7 separate regions of the Homo sapiens genome follow, and all the other regions are linked to region 2. The links are contacts of gene promoters, found by promoter capture Hi-C in blood cells and fetal thymus (Javierre and others, 2016). All regions are on one chromosome and are shown on one strand. Each heading gives the region's core, a stretch centred on a gene start or on the middle of the fragment in contact. The rest is flanking DNA. Distances are from core to core; before and after follow the strand shown.

Evidence for each region. The method cuts DNA at HindIII sites, captures the fragments that hold promoters and counts their contacts. A CHiCAGO score of 5 or more calls a contact.
Region 1: a fragment that was not itself captured here is called in contact with the fragment with the promoter of CPA2 in region 2 in 6 of 17 cell types (M1 macrophages, naive CD4 T cells, M0 macrophages and 3 more); the score reaches 8.3 in M1 macrophages.
Region 3: a contact is called between a fragment that was not itself captured here and the fragment with the promoter of CPA2 in region 2, in 11 of 17 cell types (endothelial precursors, erythroblasts, M1 macrophages and 8 more). The highest score is 14.6, in endothelial precursors.
Region 4: a fragment that was not itself captured here is called in contact with the fragment with the promoter of CPA2 in region 2 in 4 of 17 cell types (endothelial precursors, M2 macrophages, M0 macrophages and 1 more); the score reaches 6.7 in endothelial precursors.
Region 5: a fragment that was not itself captured here is called in contact with the fragment with the promoter of CPA2 in region 2 in 7 of 17 cell types (endothelial precursors, M1 macrophages, M2 macrophages and 4 more); the score reaches 14.6 in endothelial precursors.
Region 6: a fragment that was not itself captured here is called in contact with the fragment with the promoter of CPA2 in region 2 in 9 of 17 cell types (endothelial precursors, M1 macrophages, erythroblasts and 6 more); the score reaches 17.0 in endothelial precursors.
Region 7: a contact is called between a fragment that was not itself captured here and the fragment with the promoter of CPA2 in region 2, in 10 of 17 cell types (endothelial precursors, M2 macrophages, M1 macrophages and 7 more). The highest score is 9.6, in endothelial precursors.

What each region holds. Positions count from the first base shown.
Region 1 is chr7:130,768,512-130,771,211 of GRCh38, forward strand. All of the region lies in intron 3 of LOC105375508 (a long non-coding RNA gene), which reads left to right. Among named protein-coding and RNA genes, the nearest start is that of KLF14, 36 kb to the left of the region's middle. The HindIII fragment of the contact is 2,758 bases long and covers 1-2,673 here.
Region 2 is chr7:130,265,581-130,268,280 of GRCh38, forward strand. It overlaps CPA2 (carboxypeptidase A2), which reads left to right and starts at 1,283. Exons shown (of 11, transcript NM_001869.3): 1 at 1,283-1,372. The coding sequence starts at 1,302. The HindIII fragment of the contact is 5,023 bases long and covers 1-2,700 here.
Region 3 is chr7:130,726,328-130,729,027 of GRCh38, forward strand. No RefSeq gene overlaps it. Among named protein-coding and RNA genes, the nearest start is that of KLF14, 6.5 kb to the right of the region's middle. The HindIII fragment of the contact is 776 bases long and covers 1,000-1,775 here.
Region 4 is chr7:130,657,136-130,659,835 of GRCh38, forward strand. The region is part of intron 4 of COPG2 (coat protein complex I subunit gamma 2); the gene reads right to left. Among named protein-coding and RNA genes, the nearest start is that of COPG2, 10 kb to the right of the region's middle. The HindIII fragment of the contact is 4,185 bases long and covers 1-2,700 here.
Region 5 is chr7:130,675,288-130,677,987 of GRCh38, forward strand. The region is part of intron 5 of TSGA13 (testis specific 13); the gene reads right to left. Among named protein-coding and RNA genes, the nearest start is that of COPG2, 7.9 kb to the left of the region's middle. RefSeq lists an enhancer at 1,027-1,583. The HindIII fragment of the contact is 4,053 bases long and covers 1-2,700 here.
Region 6 is chr7:130,700,174-130,702,873 of GRCh38, forward strand. No RefSeq gene overlaps it. Among named protein-coding and RNA genes, the nearest start is that of TSGA13, 15 kb to the left of the region's middle. The HindIII fragment of the contact is 749 bases long and covers 950-1,698 here.
Region 7 is chr7:130,748,047-130,750,746 of GRCh38, forward strand. All of the region lies in intron 3 of LOC105375508 (a long non-coding RNA gene), which reads left to right. Among named protein-coding and RNA genes, the nearest start is that of KLF14, 15 kb to the left of the region's middle. The HindIII fragment of the contact is 3,465 bases long and covers 1-2,700 here.

The sequences.
Region 1 (2,700 bases), core at 45-2,544, 500 kb after region 2:
TGAGATAAAAACCATAAGAAAGAACCAAACAGAAAATCTGGAGCTAAACTGGCTCCAGTTTTAGCCAGCTCCACTGGCTAAACTGAAAAATTCTGTAAAGAGGTCAATCACACACAAGAAAGAATCACTGAGGTCAAAGATCATTTGAAATTACCTGGTGAGAACAAAAACAAGAAAAACAATAATGATGAAACGGTGAAAAATGTATATGGGAATTACAAGACTTCTTCAAGTGAACCAATGTTGACATTATGGGAATTTAAGGAGGAGCAGAGAAAGAGAAAGGATTAGAAAGCATATTTAAATAAATAATGATGAAAAAAACCCTTCCAAATCTGGAAAGGGAAATGACCATCCATATCCTGAATCCCAAAGAACCCTAAATAGATTAAATATAAAATTATCTTCACTGAGACACATTGTAATCAAACTCTCAAAAGTTAAAGACAAAAAGTTTGAAAGCAGAAAGAGAATAGAACCTTGTTTCATACAAGGGGACCCCCATAAGACCATCAGCAGATTTCTCAAAAGAAACTTTGTAGGCCAGGAGAGAGTAGAATGATTTATTCAAAGTACCGAAAGAAAAAAAAATCCTGCCATATAGAGCAAGGCTGTTCTTTCAGAAATGATAGAGACTTTAGAACATTCCCAGATTAAAAAAAAAAAAAACTGAGGGAGTTTATCATCACTAGATCTGCTTTAAACAAAAATGCTGGCCTGTAATCCCACCACTTTGGGAGGCTGAGACAGGAGGATCGCTTGAGGCCAGGAGTTCAAGACCAGCCTAGGCAACATAGCAAGACCCCATTTCCATTTTTTAAATGCTAAAGGTAGTTCTTTAAACAGAAAAGTAACATGGAAACATATGAAATTATGAAACTCATTAGTAAAAGTAAGTACATAGTCAAATCCAGAATATTCTAATATGATAATGGCAGTGTATAAATCACTTATATCTCTAGTATGAAGACTAAAAGGGAAAACTCTAAAATAATAGTTATAAAAGTTTGTTAAGGGATACACAATCTAAAAAGATGTAAATGGTGACTTCAAAAACATAAAATGTGTGTGGGGTGCTAAAGTGTGTAGTTTTTTTACATAACTGAAGTTAAGTGAGCAGCTTAAAATAGGCTCTTGTAAGTATAAGATGTTTTATATAAACCTCACTGCTTCATTAAAATCTTTTATTTATAATTTTAATTGACTTAAAAATTTAATAGACTATTTTTTAGAGCAATTTTAGGTTTACAGAAAAATTGATTAGATAATACAGAGAGTTTCTAAATAACCCTTCTTTCCCGGCACGCAGTTTTTCTATTATTAACATCTTTCACTGGTAAGGTACATTTTTTACAATTGATGAAATTGTATTGATACATTATAATTCATTAAAGTCCACAATTTACATTAGGGTTCACTCTTTGTGTTGTACAGTTCTATGGCTTTTGACATAGTGTCATGTATCTATCTCTACATTATCATATAGAATAGTTTCACCACTCCAAAAATCCCCTGTACTCCATCTATTCAACTTTTCTTCCCTTGCCCCTAGCAAAGACTGATTTTTTTACTGTCTCTTACAGTTTGCCTTTTCCAGAATGTTCTATGATTGGAATCATATAGAATGTGCTTTTTTTAGACTGCTTTTTTTTACTTACCAATATGTATTTAAAGTTCTTTCATGTCTTTTTATGGTTTAATAGCTCATTTTCTTTTATCACTGAATAATAGTCCATTGTATGGATATACAACAGTTTGTTTATCCATCCACTTATTTAAGGGAATCTTGGTTGCTTCCAGTTTCTGGAAAGTATGAATAAAGCTGCTATAAACGTTCATTTACAGGTTTCTGTGTGCACATAAGTTTTCAACTTAATTGGGTAAATACCTAGGAGCACAGATGCTGTATTGTAATGTAAAACTATATTTACGTTTGTATGAAATTGCCAAACTGTCTTCCAAAGTGGCTGTAACAGTTTGCATTCCCGTCAGCAATGACTGGGAGTTCCTGTTGCTCCACATCTTGCTCCACATCCTCATCATCATTTGATATTTTCAGAATTTTGGATTTTAGCCATTTTAATAGTGTAGCAGTATCTCATTGTTATCCTAATTTGCAATTACCTAATGACAATTTATTTTGTTTTCATATGCTTATTTGTTGCCATATATTCTCTGGTGAGACATCTGTTCTGATCTTTTGCCTGTTTTAAAATTAGATTGTTTGTTTACTTATTACTGAGTTTTGTTTTGTTTTGAGACAGAATCTCGTTCTGTCACCCAGGCTGGAGTGCAGTGTTGCAGTCTTGGCTCACTGCGAGCTCCGCCTCCCGGGTTCACGCCATTCTCCTGCCTCAGCCTCCGGAGTAGCTAGGACTACAGGCGCCCACCACCATGCCTGGCTAATTTTTTTGTATTTTTAGTAGAGAACGGGTTTCACTGTGTTAGCCAGGATGGTCTCGATCTCCTGACCTTGTGATTTGCCTGCCTCGGCCTCCCAAAGTGCTGGGATTACAGGCGTGAGCCACTGTGCCCGGCCACGTATTACTGAGTTTTAAGAATTATTTGTCTATTTTGGATATGTGTTCTATCAAATGTGTGTTTCACAAATATTTTCTTCCAGTGTGTGGCTTGCCTTTGCATTCTCTTAACAATGTATGTCACAGAGCAAAAAGCTTTAATTTTAATGAAGTTCAAGCT
Region 2 (2,700 bases), core at 33-2,532:
GATTCTCCAAGTACATACTTCCAGTTTATTGAACTACTGTTTATTTGATAGGTGCTGGAGACATGAGGATGAATTATGGCCTCTGCCTTTTGGTTTCTGTCTTCTCTCTGACTCCCAGGAGAATGAAAAACCAAGTTAATCCAGTCATTCTTAAAATCAGAAACACTGTGTATATACCTTTCCCCTTAAAGCAGATATTTGAGAATGCAAACCCAGAGATTTAAAGTGTGTGCTGATAAATTTGACACACAAAGGACAGACGAAAATTTCCTTGCTGCTTGTTGTGGTTGAGGCTTTCTAGGCTTAATATAACGTGTATGAACAACTAAAATTAAATAAACTATGGTTTCTAAAAATAAGCAGTTATATTTTCTTCTTAAGCAATGAAGAACAAAGTCAGATTAATGTAGATCTATGTTTATGAACAAGAAAAGATCACCTTTGTTTAAAGAACAGTATACGTGATATGGTCTAATCTTTGTTTAAGAAAAAAACTCGAAAGCAGAGAAAGAAATTTGGAAAGACATATGCCAAATGGTTTTCTTTGGATGGAAGAATTATTGATGGTTAAAGAAAACACTTTCTTTTAATTCACACTTTTTATAACAAGCAACTTCATTGTTGCTTGTTATAGGAAATGTCATCAGAAAGACATTTTCATTTTGGGAAAAAGCACAGAAAGAGGGATATCAATTTGGTGCAAATGCAGATGGATCACTTTCGAGAAAGTGCAAAATTGAATATTAAAAGGCCTTCTGTTTTGTTTTAATGTAGAGTGAGGATTGGAATGGGCCACATCTACAGGGACACTCAGCAGATGTGGACTGAGTGACTGCAGTGTTTCAAGGTAAACATTATAAAAATAAACAAATGAGCAAACTAATGGAATGTGATAGACAGGATGCCTGAGTAATTACTATAAATGCTCTGGCCTTTTTTTTGTGTGTGTGTCAGAGACCCAGAAAAGACTTTAACCTCTAGGTCTATTAATCTGGCTTCTATCACAGGGTAGCTAGTGGCGTTTTATGGTCTCAATCATAACTATATTGCCCTTGGTATGCTCTAGCAATTTTGTTCTCTTTCCATCAAAGTTTGTTATCTTATCCTAGGAATGGAACATGTACACATTGGTGATATCACACAGGTGGATGTCTACAACCTTGAGAATTTCACATGCAGGTGGGAATTTTCCCATGTGGGAATTCACGTGAGTTCTCAGAAGGCCAGCAGATCACCCTCAGCTGCCATCCCTACAAATAAAGTTCAGGAAGGACTCTGAATTCTGGACTCCAGGAAAACCCATGGCCATGAGGTTGATCCTGTTTTTTGGTGCCCTTTTTGGGCATATCTACTGTCTAGAAACATTTGTGGGGTAAGTTATGCTTTCTGGTGCTTCTTTGAATTTTACTTACCTGATTGATGGAGGCTTTGATTGTTACAGAGTAAATGGGTATAAGTGTTCAGTGTTTTCAGAGAAGTTCTCTTAGATTTGGGGATAAGTCAATAGTGTGAAAAAAAGGAGTGGATGATCAAAAAGGAGGTGAATGACATTTAAAGGAAAAGACAAAAGTGAAAACTGAACACACATAACCCTATTTCTCTCTGTCCTTACTCATTTTTCCCTCCAGTGATCAGACTGTAGGGATGATAGACATCAGGGAAAATACAGCTGTGTGGCCATTTGTTCCAGGCAACTCAGCGGGTGTCAATGCTACTCTCCCACCTCCTCCTGCTCTTCTGGGCTTTACCATCCACGTTAGCCCTTGTGCCCTAACCCCCGATCTTTAGATTCAGCACCTAGGTGGTGGAACCTCATGAAGTAGAAAGGCCAGGGCTATAGATTTCAGCTCAACTCCTCCTCTCCTGGCTTTGGAGGACTCATCTTTGCTCCAAAGTACTTTGCTTCATGATTCTATGAAGGGTTTCAGGCAGCATTTTTTGAAGAGTGGTCCAGGGAGCTAAGAAAGCAATCAAATAAGTTTGGTCCCAAAAAGCCACTGGTCAAATAAATGTGGGAATCAGAGGATTAAACAAACTATAGGATTTCTAGGAGCCTTGGCTAAATCAGTGTGCATTATAAATCTATAAGAGGGGATCTAGGTTGCAGCATGTACTCTTTTTTTTAATCATAAACTACCTACTGCTCCCAGCTTGCCCTTTCTTTCTTTCTCTTTCTCTTTCTTTCTTTCTTTCTCTTTCTTTCTTTCTTTCTTTCTTTCTTTCTTTCTTTCTTTCTTTCTTTCTTTCTTTCTTTCACTGAGTAACTCAAAGAACTACTATTCTTTAGAACACACACCAGGAAATATGACCCTGTTGTATTACTTTTCTCAGTGCCTTCCCATTTTAAAGGAGGACTCCTGGGAGTCCATGCATTAACCGAAAATAATGAGACTTAAATGGAAGAATTTTCAGACCATTTGTGGCAGGTGAGCCTCGAAGAGCTCACATTCCATCACTTCTGTATTCCACTGGAGTTCGTAGGAAATTGCATGGAGCTTGGTTTCAGAAGACCCATATTCTGGTCCCTGTACATGGCTCATTGTATTGATTCCTTCCCCACTGCACAAACAGTTGGGGCAGTGACTTAGGAAGTCTGCCTACGTGGAGAAAGGCTAGAAGGGGAAACTCTGTCACCAAGGGAACTCTTCCTAAAGAGATGTGCTTGATTGTTTTGAGATTTCTCTTTCCTGTTCATCCTTC
Region 3 (2,700 bases), core at 138-2,637, 460 kb after region 2:
TTTTTTCTTGTCTTTTAACTTGCCTTGTTTTGGTATCAAGGTTAGCTTGACAACATAAAAGAAATTAGTTAATTTTCTATCCTTTTCTATGCTTTAGAGTGCTTTATAAAAATAGAAATTATCTTTTTCTTGAAGGCTTAGAAAATTTGCCAATGCAACTGCTGAGACCTAGTGCCTTTTGGGAGATACAAGTTTGACTACCACTTCAATTTCAGATTTTCTACATCTTCTTAAACTATTTTGAAATTTTATATTTTTCTTATAAAATTATCCATATAGTTTTCAATTCTTGATATAAAGTTGTTTGTATTATTCTAATTTAAAAAATCTGTGTTATGATTTTATGTCCTGTTTTATTCCTGATAACTTTTTGTGCCTTCTATTTTATTTTATTTTATTTTTGAGACAGGGCCTCACTCTGTTGCCCAGGCTGAAGTGCAGTGACACAATCACAGTGCAGCCTCGGCCTCCCCGGCTCAAGCAATTCTTCAGCTTCAGCCTCCTGAGTAGCTGGGACTACATGTGCATACCACGCACTCAGCTAATTTTTTTTTTTTTTTTTTTTTCTTTGGTAGAGACAGGGCTTTGCCATGCTTCTTGAACTCCTGGGCTCAAATGACCCTCCCACCTTGGCCTCCAAAGTTTTGGAATTACAGGCGTGAGCCACTGCACCCGACCCTGACTTCTCTTTTTAAGAAATTTATATTTGCCAAAGAAACCTACTGTTATTCACCTTTTAAAAGAGTTTTGCTCAAAGCTACCTATTTTTTCTTGTTTCATTAATTTCTGCTTTATTAATGATAATATTTTTCATTCTTTTTTTATTATCACCCCTCCAGAATTGGTTTCAGATTTTTTTTTCCTAATCACTCCCCGTTCCCCACATCCCTATGAAATCTTAAACCACACATATAGTGTATATCTATTTATGTAGTATGCTGTTTTGGAGGCCACAACCATTGTAATATTTAAATGTTTTCCTTTTCTTCTGGAGTTGAAAGCTTAGTTCATTCACCTTCATTCAACCTTTCTCTTTTTTGAATAAAATATTTAAGGCTATAAATTACATTTCCTCCCCTAGTGTTTTTTGCTTGCTATATAGTGCTTTTTGTTTTCATTCAGCTCCAAATTTCTGCAATTTCCCCTTCTGTCTGACTTACGTAGAGGCTTCCTTTTACGGATTTCTCAATTTATGGATTTTTAATGATATTTTTGTTGTATTTTTATGTGATTACCTGCCTGAAGTTTGTCTAGACTTTCTTTGTATCTTACCATGTGGCCGATAGGAATGCTTGCAATCTTTCAACATTTAAGTTTGATTTTTATAGTAGGCTTTTGGCAGATACCTTTTATCAACTTAAGAAATTATCTTTTGTTACTAGTTTACTAAGGTATTTTTAAATTAAATCACAAATCATTGTTGATTTTTAACAATGAAACTATTGAGACGGTTATGCCTTTTTGCTTCCTAATTTCTATTAATTTGATCAATAACTTTGATATATTTCATGTGTCTCATCTTCCCACACTTTCTAAAGACTTACTTCTTTCTGTACGTTCTCCAAGCAACCATCTATATTCCCACTGACAATGGTAATATCACTGAAACTAAGCTAAAAATACTTGGAAGTATTGTTTACATTTTCTGTAATCATCTACTATACCTATCTCAGTGATAGGGATGATTTCCCAGTGCTTTCTCTGCAAATTTAAACAGGTATCTCTCAATATTTTCTTGGGCCTGAGATCCTGAGTGAAGACAGACATTCATGTAAAGCTTGCGTCCATTCTTTTGTTAGATCTCTTAGGGTTCTAATCACCTCCTCTAACCTACTAATAATTAAAATGCCACTCTCCTTTATAATTCCATGTTTAAGATTGTTGGCTACTGGTCTTTCTTATTTTTCTTTTCACATCATCAATACTGTCCTCTGAAAACACAACCTTTCTTCTAAATAAATCCTTCTCTTCTTTCAGCTTAATCAAACCATCATCCTTTCTTCAGTTTTCACCCTTGTACTGCTTCTATTTTGATTTCAAGATTTAAATATATATATTTGAAACAAATATGGCTCCCATTTTATTTCCTGAATAGACCCTGATTCCTAGGGAGAGAAGGATTCAGGCAAAAGCCTTTTTAATACTTTTCCTGCCTTTGGGATTATGGTATACAATGCTTTTCTCTTCCTCAAACCCCTATATAACAAAAACTTCCATTCCTCTTTATGTATTTGTGATAAAATCCACCATTTCTCTGTGGTTGAACACACAAGAAATTCAGCTGAGGCCTTGAAATTCCACTGTCAGGGCTTATATAGTAAACACATCTGGCACCAACTTGGAATATAAATAGAAGGTGATTCTGGATATCCCATATGAATTAAAGGATTTGGAGCCTCCCATTGGCCTCTCCTTAGCCCTATTAAAGGGTGCATTTCAAATCCAGATAATGGGGAAACTGATCTGATACCACCTGATACTTCCCAGAATAATTTAAGAGCTAGAATGTCCCTAACCTGTGCTCTTACATATACATGGAACTTATGCCACTGACCTTAGAATCCTCAACTGCAATTCTGGCTGAGCATAAAGGCAGCACAAATTGATCTATTGAATAGCGCCTTCCCTTTCTGCAGTGATCCTGTCTCAGTTACATCTATGTGAATCAAAATCAGCCACAGTGTTCTGTACAGCTCACTT
Region 4 (2,700 bases), core at 35-2,534, 390 kb after region 2:
GCATAGAGCTAAAGTAAGAACAGACATATAGGTCAATGAGACAAAATAATGTGCCAACGTGCCAATGTAACTCAATCATCTTCATCATCTCCTCCCCCTCCTCCCCTTTCTCCTTCCATATGGATATTCAATTGTTCCAGAACCATGTGTTGAGAAAATGAAGAAGGAAGAAAAGGAAGAGGCAGTGGATGGAGGAAGAGAAAAGAGGTGAAAAGAAACCAACCATTACTTTATACCATATACAAAAATCAATATGAAATGGATCATAAGGTAATTGATATAAAACTACAAACACCCAGAAAAAAAGCACAGGAGAAAATCGTTGTCCCCTTCGGTTAAGGAAAGATTTCTATGATATGACATAAAAAGCATCACCTGTAACAGAAAAAAATTTGATAAACTGGACTTCATCAAAATTTAAAACTTCTGCCCTTTGAAAGACTTTAACAAAATAAAAACATAAGCCATATACTGAGAGACAATAATTGTGAAACATATCTGATAAAGGATTTGTATCCAGAATGCATAAAGACCTCTTAAAACTCAATAATAAGAAAATAAACAATCCAATTTTTTTAATGGGCAAAAGATATTAACAAATCCTTCACCAACAGAAGATATACGGAAGGTAAAAATACAAATGAAAAGATGTTTGAGATCATCAGTCATTGGAAAAATGCAAATTTAAGTCACAAAGGGATACCATTATACACCTATCAGAATAGCTAAAATTAAAAACAAAAATAAAAACGACAATACAAAGTGCTGGCCAGAATGCAGAGCAAACTGCTGCTCTCATACAGTGATGGCGGGAATGATTACAAATATTTTAGAAAAATGGGTTGGTAGTTTCTTACAAAGTTAAACATACCATACCTACATATGGCCCAGCAATCCCACTCCCAGGCATTTATCCAAAAGAAATAAAAATGTATGTTCATCCAAAAATCAAAACATGAATGTTTATAGCAATGTTGTTTATAATCACCAAAAACTGGTAACAAGCCAAATATCCTTCAACTGGCAAACAGATAAACAGAGGTACATCCATTCAATGGAATACGACGACAAAATAAAAATAAACTACTGATACAAACAATAATATGGATGAATCTCACATGCATTATGCTAAGTAACTGAAAAGAAACTCAAAAAAGGCTTCATACAGTATGATATCATTCATATGACTTCCTGGAAAAGGCAAATTTATAAGGACAGAAAGGAGATAGATTGCCAGGGGCTGAGGGAGGCAAGGAGAAACAGATGATAAAGAGACACGGGGGAACTTTTTGAGGAGATGGAAATGTTCTAAACCTCAATTGTGGTGGTGATAACACCACTATATGTGTTTGTCAAAGCTCATAGAATGATACCCTAAAAAGGATGAATTTTACCGCATGTAAAACTACACTTAAAAAAAAAATAATAGTCCAGTAAATGAAAAGGCAAGCCACAGACTGGGAGGAAATATTTACAAAACATCTGTCTGATAAAGGACTTCTATCCAGAATACATAAAGAAACTTATAACTCAGTAAGATGACAACCTGATTTTTTTTTTTTTGACACGGAGTCTTGCACTGTTACCTGGGCTGGAGTGCAGTGGCACGATCTCAGCTCACTGCAATCTCCCCCTCCTGGGTTCAAGTGATTCTCCCACCTCAGCCTCCCAAGTAGCTGGGATTACAGGTGCCTGCCAGCACACCCAGCTAATTTTTTGTATTTTTAGTAGAGACAGGGTTTCACTATGTTGACCAGGCTGGTCTAAAACTCCTGACCTCATGATCTGCCCACCTCAGCCTCCTAAAGTGCTGAGATTACAGGCGTGAGCCACCGGGCCCAGCCGACAACCTGATTTTTTTAAGTGGTAACAAATTTTAACAGACACTTCATCAAAGCAGATATACAGATGGCAAATAAGTACATGAAAATATGCTTAGGCCGGGCGCGGTAGCTTACGCCTGCAATCCCAGCACTTTGGGAGGCTGAGACGGGCGGATCACAAGGTCAGCAGATCGAGACCATCCTGGCTAACACAGTGAAACCCCGTCTCTACTAAAAATACAAAAAATTATCCAGGTGTGGTGGCGGGTGCCTGTAGTCCCAGCTACTCAGGAGGCTGAGGCAGGAGAATGGCGTGAACCTGGGAGGCAAAGGTTGCAGTGAGCCGAGATCATGCCATTGCACTCCAGCCTGGGCGACAGAGCAAGACTCCGTCTCAAAAAAAAAAAAAACGAACAAACAAGCATTATCTAGAAATTCCACTTGTAGGTATCTACTCCAGAAAAAGTCTCACTGTGTACATAAACATTATGTGCAGTATCATTTGTAATAGGTAAAATGTGGGAACAACTTATATCTACCAATGGGAGAATGGATAAATAGAATTACTGTATATTCACATATTGGAATTCCATATAGTAGTGAAAGTAAATAAAGTAGAAGTACATGTAACAAGCCAGTAAATCTTAAAAATGTATTAATTATAAACACTGCAGGCTGGGTGTGGTGGCTCAGGCCTATAATCCCAGTACTTTGGGAGGCCAAGGCGGGCAGATAAAGAGGTCAGGAAATTGAGACCATCCTGGCCAACATGATGAAACCCTGTCTCTACTAAAAATACAAAAATTAGACAGGCATGGTGGCACGTGCCCACAGTCCCAGCTACTCCAGAGGCTGAGGCAGGAGAATCGCTCAAACC
Region 5 (2,700 bases), core at 97-2,596, 410 kb after region 2:
TTCTACTTCCTACTTCCCTATAACTTCAGCCTTCCCATACTCGACTTCATGGCCTCTTCACTACCTTTCTTCCTCATGGTTTGAGTCTTTTTTTGGGGGGGGTGGGGTGGGGAGGGGATGGAATCTCACTCTGTTGCCTGGGCTGGACTGCAGTGGCACAGTCTCCACTCACTGCAACCTCCACCTCCCAAGTTCAAGCAATTCTCCTGTGTTAGCCTCCGGAGTAGCTAGGACTACAGGCATGTGCCACCACGCCTGGCTAATTTTTTGTATTTTTAGTAGAGACAGGGTTTCACCACGTTAGCCAGGATGGTCTCAATCTCCTGACCTCGTGATCTGCCTGCCTCGGCCTCCCAAAGTGCTGGGCTTACAGGCGTGAGCCACTGCGCCAGGCCGGTTTGAGTCTTCTAGCCTTACTCTTATGTGTCCTTTTAGCTTTCATTCCTACTGCTTCAATCTTTTCATTTCTCAATTCAGAGACCTGGAAACAAGAATCTGATTAGCTCAGGGATTCTGGATGTTGGTAGGTTGGTTGGTTTTTGTTTTGATTTGTTTTTTGTTTGTTTTGGTTTTAGGGTACCAATCCACATCACAGGTCACTACCCAGCCTATGAATTTTGCTTTGTTGGGTCTGATATCCTCCTCTGGTCTCAACTAGGAGTGGGGACACGGTCCTGTTGTACAAAATAGAACTTCTCAGGATATTCCCTTACTCAGGAGACTGTGGTAGGGTCAGTTTCACTTAGAAGGGGCTGTTAGTATGACAATCACTGTAATAGATATATCTAGTACATTCCATAACTTGCCTACTAGAACTCACAGTCTTTTTGGATGCATGCCTGGGCATAACAAAGAATGCTTTTCTTGTAAATGATTCTAGGTTTACAAAAGATTATCACATTTGTCCAGCAAGGGAAGGAAAGGATGCTGCATGAATATTAAAGAGGCATTGTAGATATCACACGTTTCAATCTTCTTGGGCTTGTTCCAGTCTGATAGCCCCATAAAATTACCATGGTGCCAGTCTTTGAGCCTTAACTTTATCCATTAGTACAATTTAACTGGTACCACAATTTGCTCATCAATATGATTAGATTCTGCACCTGAACTGGAGGGTTCACAAAGTGTGCAGGCTGTTGGAAGAAAGCTCTTCCCACACCCAGTTTACATGATAGCTTTGTATTTCCTTCTGCGCATTAAGCAGGGCAATCCTGGCCTGGCATTTATCCCTTTCTCAATGTATGGTCCACCCACTGCCATGAGAAACTACCAGTGAGCTTACCTTCAAAGGGCACAAATTCTGAGACCCAAGAGACCACATGCGGTAAATTCATTAACTCCTTTGTTAGTACATGCCATTGGATATTAGCATTTTATCTTCCACTTGAAGGAGAATCTCTCACTGTCATCCATCTAGGAACTATGGAAACACTAACTCCAAATTCACCACATTTTATTATAAGGGTCTCACTTGGGTAATCCCATGCCCAGCATAAAATTTCTACTAGAATCCTTTGTTTGCACTTTCACTTAACTCATTTATTTAATTTGTTCTTGTTAGATTAGACCCGCTCTTGAGGCTATCATGACCTTTTTTAGATTTTGATTCTTTTTTTTTTTTTTGAGACTGAGTCTCCCTCTGTCGCCCAGGCTGGAGTGCAGTGGTGCGATCTCGGCTCACTGCGAGCTCCGCCTCCCACGTTCACTCCATTTTCCTGCCTCAGCCTCCGGAGTAGCTGGGAGTACAGGCGCCCGCTACCACGCCCGGCTAATTTTTTGTATTTTTAGTAGAGACGGGGTTTCACTGGGTTAGCCAGGATGGTCTCAATCTCCTGACCTCGTGATCCACCTGCCTTGGCCTCCCAAAGTGCTGGGATTACAGGCGTGAGCCACTGCTCCCGGCCAGATTTTGATTCTTAAATATCTCATAATTAAATTTTCTCTACTTCCTCTGCTAATGATTTAGTTCAGGTCTTCAGTATCTCTCACCTTGACTATTTTAGTAACATTATAACTCATCTTTCTGGGTTTTGTCTCTTCCACAACTACTAATGCACCTTTCTTCAACCTCCAAAACAGTCTTCCTAAAATGCAAATTTGATTACATCCTTTTGTCTCCTGCCATTTACTCTATTTGCTTTTTCTTTTTTTTTTTGAGATAGAGTCTCGCCCTGTCGCCCATGCTGGAATGCAGTAGCGCTATCTTGGCTCACTGCAACCTCCACCTCCCAGGTTCAAGCGATTCTCCTCCCTCAGCCTCCTGAGTAGCTGGGACTACAGGCATGCAGCACCACGCATGGCTAATTTTTGTATTTTTAGGAGAGATGGGGTTTCACCATGTTGGCCAAGCTGGTGTCAAACTCCTTATCTCAAGTGATCTGCCCGCCTCAGCCTCCCAAAGTGCTGGGATTACAGGCGTGAGCCACTGCGCCTGGCCCTGCCATTTACTCTCTTACATCTTCCTGAATGCACCTCATTTTCCCATGTCTTCATGCTTTTGCTCTTTCCTCTGATTTGATATTTTCCTGTTCTTTTGTCATGGGTCACTTCCCTACTCACTCCCTTTTTCCCAACAGAAATACTGTATTCTACATTACTTCTGTATTTTGTATATTCTTCTATTACTTTAACATACCTCATTTATTGATCTTTCTCCTATTAGATTCCAAGTTCCTTTAAGACAGAAACTGTCCTGTAATC
Region 6 (2,700 bases), core at 74-2,573, 430 kb after region 2:
TGGAGTTGGAGACCAACCTGACCAACATGGCAAAACCCCATCTCTACTAAAAATACAAAAATTAGCCGGGTGTGGTGGCTCGCACCTGTAGTCCCAGCTACTCGTAAGGCTGAGGCAGGAGAATTGCTTGAACCCGGGAGGCGGAGGTTGCAGTGAACCAACAGAGTGCCACTGTACTCCAGCCTGGGCGACAGAGTGAGACTTTGTCTCAAAAAGAAAGAAAGAAAGAAATGCCAAATTGCACTCCACAATGGCTGCCTCTTTTAAATATCTGCTTTGAAGGATTGCCCTTGGGCTACTGGAGCCACTTATCCCAGAGAATAGGAAGTGTCTGGGAGATTAGGTACCCCCAGTACATCTGTAGTCAATGGACCACTGCAGTATAAGGATGAAAGCCCAGCTCCTTTGCCTTAGACTCTTTCAGGCTGAGGCATAATTTCCTCTCCAGAACTCCCTTATAGGATCAGATTAAGGCTAGGACTCTGTCTGAAATACAGTACATCTTTCTTTAGTTTCTTCTATTTTTCTGTCCTTCATCCCCAACTTCCTTACCAGTTTATGCTGGGATGACTTTCTTAATAAGTTATTTGAAAATAAATCTATGTCTCAAGATTGGCTTTTGGCGAACATGAGCTAAGTCACATTGCCCCATCCACACTTAGTATCATTCAACTTTCTAATTCTTCCCTATTTCACTGTTGTTTCAATTTGCATTTCTTTGATTATTAATGAGTTTAAACATTTCTTCATATTTATCAACTTTTGGTTCCTTATTTAAATGCTGATTCATATCTTTTGCCTATTATTTTAATGAAGTTGCTGACATTTTCTTGTGAATTTGCAAGATTTTGTTATATATTCTAGATATCAACCCATAGTCAGCTTTAAATGGTATGAATAATTTTCTTTAATTCTATTAGCTGTCCATTAATTTTTTCCCTGGATAGAAAGCTTTTGTGTGTGTGTGTGTGCCTCCACCAAGATTTTTTAAATTAACTATTTTAAATTCAGTGACATTTAGTTCATTTGCAGCATTGTGCAACCACCGCATCTATCTAGTTTTGAAACATTTTCTTCACTCTAAAGTAAAACCTTTTGCACATTAAACAGTTTCTCCTCTTTCTCTCTAACCTGCCAGTACCTGGCAGCCACCAATCTGTGTTCTATCTTTATGAATTTATCTATTCTGGATATTTCATACAAATGGAATCATACAATATGTGATCTTTGGTGTCTGGCTTCTTTCACTTAGCTAATGTTTTAGAGGTTCATCCATGTTATAGCATGTATTAGGTACGGTACTTCATCCTTTTTTTTAATCACTGAAAAATATGCTTATGAATATACTGCAATTTGTTTATCCACTCTTCCACTGATAGACATTTGGGCTGTTTCCACCTTTTGACTATTATCAATAGTGCTGTTATGAACATGTGTGTACATGTGCTTATTTGAGTGCCTGTTTTTATTATTTGCAGCATATAGTGCTAGCATTTACCTAGGAGTGTAAATGCTAGATCATATGGCTAACCATTTTACATTCCCACTAGCAATGTATGAGGTTCCAATTTCTCCACATCCTTGCAAACATTTATTTTCTGGTGGTTTTTTGTTGTTGTTGTTGTTGTTGTTGTTTTTGTTTTTGTTTTTCACTTGTAGTCATCCCAGTGGGTGTGAAGTATTACCTCGGTGTTGGAAAGCTTTTTTGATGTAAATAGGTTAATTAATGTTTTGACTTATGGTTGTGTTTTCTTTTTTTTTTTTTTTAATTTATAAACTTTATTTAAACTTTATTTTTTTTTTCTTTTATCCGTAAACTTCTTTTTTTTTTTTTTTATTATACTCTAAGTTTTAGGGTACATGTGCACATTGTGCAGGTTAGTTACATATGTATACATGTGCCATGCTGGTGCGCTGCACCCACTAATGTGTCATCTAGCATTAGGTATATCTCCCAATGCTATCCCTCCCCCCTCCCCCGACCCCACCACAGTCCCCAGAGTGTGATATTCCCCTTCCTGTGTCCATGTGATCTCATTGTTCAATTCCCAGCTATGAGTGAGAATATGCGGTGTTTGGTTTTTTGTTCTTGCGATAGTTTACTGAGAATGATGGTTTCCAATTTCATCCATGTCCCTACAAAGGATATGAACTCATCATTTTTTATGGCTGCATAGTATTCCATGGTGTATATGTGCCACATTTTCTTAATCCAGTCTATCATTGTTGGACATTTGGGTTGGTTCCAAGTCTTTGCTATTGTGAATAGTGCCGCAATAAACATACGTGTGCATGTGTCTTTATAGCAGCATGATTTATACTCATTTGGGTATATACCCAGTAATGGGATGGCTGGGTCAAATGGTATTTCTAGTTCTAGATCCCTGAGGAATCGCCACACTGACTTCCACAATGGTTGAACTAGTTTACAGTCCCACCAACAGTGTAAAAGTGTTCCTATTTCTCCGCATCCTCTCCAGCACCTGTTGTTTCCTGACTTTTTAATGATTGCCATTCTAACTGGTGTGAGATGATATCTCATAGTGGTTTTGATTTGCATTTCTCTGATGGCCAGTGATGATGAGCATTTCTTCATGTGTTTTTTGGCTGCATAAATGTCTTCTTTTGAGAAGTGTCTGTTCATGTCCTTCGCCCACTTTTTGATGGGGTTGTTTGTTTTTTTCTTGTAAATTTGTTTGA
Region 7 (2,700 bases), core at 86-2,585, 480 kb after region 2:
AGGCAGGAGAATGGTGTGAACCCGGGAGGTGGAGCTTGCAGTGAGCCAAGATTGTGCCACTGCACTCCAGCCTGGGCGGCAGAGCAAGACTCCGTCTCAAAACAAAAATTAAAAAAAAAAAAAAAAAAAAACCACTCTCAAGTATAAAAAATAAACTCTAGGTGGATTAGGGAGGTAAGCATAAAAATCAAATTTAAAGCACTGGAATAATCTCAATAGATGTAGAGTAAATATTTAACAAAATTAAAGATTCCTTCATGATTAAAAAACTCTTAGAAAATTAGGAGTAGAAAGGAATGTCCTTAATTTTATAAATGACATCTACAGAAAAACCTACATTGTACTTAACAGTGAAAAATGGGATGATTTTCACCTAAGATTGGAAATAAGCTAAGGATGTTCACTCTCTCACTTCAATTCTCAGATATTATTGTCTATTAAGAAAATCCCAAGGCATCTATCCAAAAGTTCATAGAACTAAGAAGTCATTTTAGTAAGTTTTCAAAATACAAGGTCTGTATACTAACAATGAATACATAAAAATCAAAATTAAAAAACAGCATTATTTCCCACACACACCAGTTCCATTTAGCACCAAAAAGATAAATATTTAATATATAGTTAACAAAATTTTCGTTATCTGTGTACTTAAAACTACAAAAGACCAATGAAAGACAGCATATACCTAAATAAATGGCAAGTCTTCCATGGATTGGAAGACTCAGTACTGTGTAGATGTCATTTCTCCCCAAATTGACATATAGATTCGAATGGCCGTAATCAAAATCCAAGTAGGAGTGTGACTTTTGTAGATATTATATTTTAAATTGACATGGAAAGACAAACTAAAATAATCAAAACAATTTTGGAAAAAAACTTTTGAAAATAGGTTGTTAGGAAATGCATACTATTTGATTTTAAGAGCTATTATAAAACTACAGTGATTAGGACAGTGTGGTACTGGTGGGAAAATGGACACAAATATTAACGGAGCAGAGGGAGGATTTCAGAAATAGATCAAACTAGCCAACTGATTTTTGACAAAGGTGCAAACACAGTTCAACGGAGAAAGAATAGTCTTTTCAGCAGATTGTTCTTGAACAGTTGGATATTTGTTCATAAAACCTGAATTTCAATTCATACCTTCCATCTTCTACAAAATTATAATCAAAATGGATTTTAGACCTAAATATAAAAATCCAAAACTATAAAACTTCCATGGAAAAAAAAAGAAGAAAGATTTGTGTTCTAGAGTTAGGCCAAGATTTCTTAGATTTTGATATCAAAAGCATAAGCTATAACAGAAAAAAAGAAATTGGACTTCATCAAAATTAAAAGTTTCTCTGCAAGACACCTAAGATAGTTAGAAGACAAGCAACAGACTGGAAGAAATATTTGCAAATTATGTACCTGAAAAAGAATTTGTATTGAAAAAATATAAAGAACTTTCAAAGTTCAACATTAAACAATAAATAACTCAATTTTTAAAATGGACAAAAGATTTGAACACTTTACTCAAGAAGATGTGGGGCTGGCAAATAAGTATACAAAAAGATGCTCACTATTAACAGTTAGGGAAATGCAGATTGAAACCACAGTGAGGCACCGCTATACACCTTTTAGGTTTTTTGTTTTGTTTTGTTTTTTTGAGACAGTGTCGCTCCGTCGCCTAGGCTGGAGTGCAGTGGCATGATTTCAGCTCACTGTAGCCTCCGCCTCCTGGGTTCAAGCAATTCTTCTGCCTCAGCTTCCCGAGTAGCTGGGACTACAGTCATGCACCACCACACCCGGCTAATTTTTGTATTTTTAGTAGAGACGGGGGTCTCACCATATTGGCCAGGCTGGTCTCGAACTCCTGACCTTGTGATCTGCCCGCCTCAGCCTCCCAAAGTGCTGGGATTACCAGCGTGAGCCACCGCACCCGGCCCTTTTAGAATTTTTTAAATGTTCTTTTTAAACCAGACAATACAGAGCATCTGGAACTCTCAAACTCTGGAGCCCTAAAGCCCAGTGTGCTAGACGGGAGAGATGCCTCCAAGGTCTTATCTCTAGCCACTGGCTTCCGCCATTTGTATGTGGTGTTCTATTTCTAATGTGTAGGCCAGCTTATAAAGTTAAACACACATTTACCACATGATCCAGTAATCCCTCTCCTAGGTAGTTAGCCAAGAGAGCTGAAAACTTATATTCACCCAGAAACCTTTATGTGACTGTTCATGATGGTTTTATTCATAATTGCCCAAAATCAAAAACCAGAAACAACCCAGATGTTGTTCTGCTGGTGAACGGACCAACGCACTGGCACTTCATGCAATGGAATGATAATCAGCAATGAAAAGGGGCAGACTGTGAGACACACAGCAGTGTGGATGGACTTCATCTGCATTATGCCAGGAGAAAAAGTCAGATAAAGGCTACCTACTTTATGGTTCCATTTGTATGAGGAATCCCTTAAAAACAGATCCGTCGTTGCCACAGGCTGGCTGTGGGAGGAAGGGCAGGAATGATTTTGGAGGGTTACAGAACTGTTCAGTATCTTGTTTGAGGGGGTGCTTACATGACTGTATAAATTTGTTAAAAACTCATAGAGTGGTACACAAAGAGAGAATTTTGCTGTTTATGAATTTCAAAATGTGAATTTAAAAATTACTGTGAAAAAATGTAGACTATCTTGGTAATTGCACAGTAGGATAGGAAGGT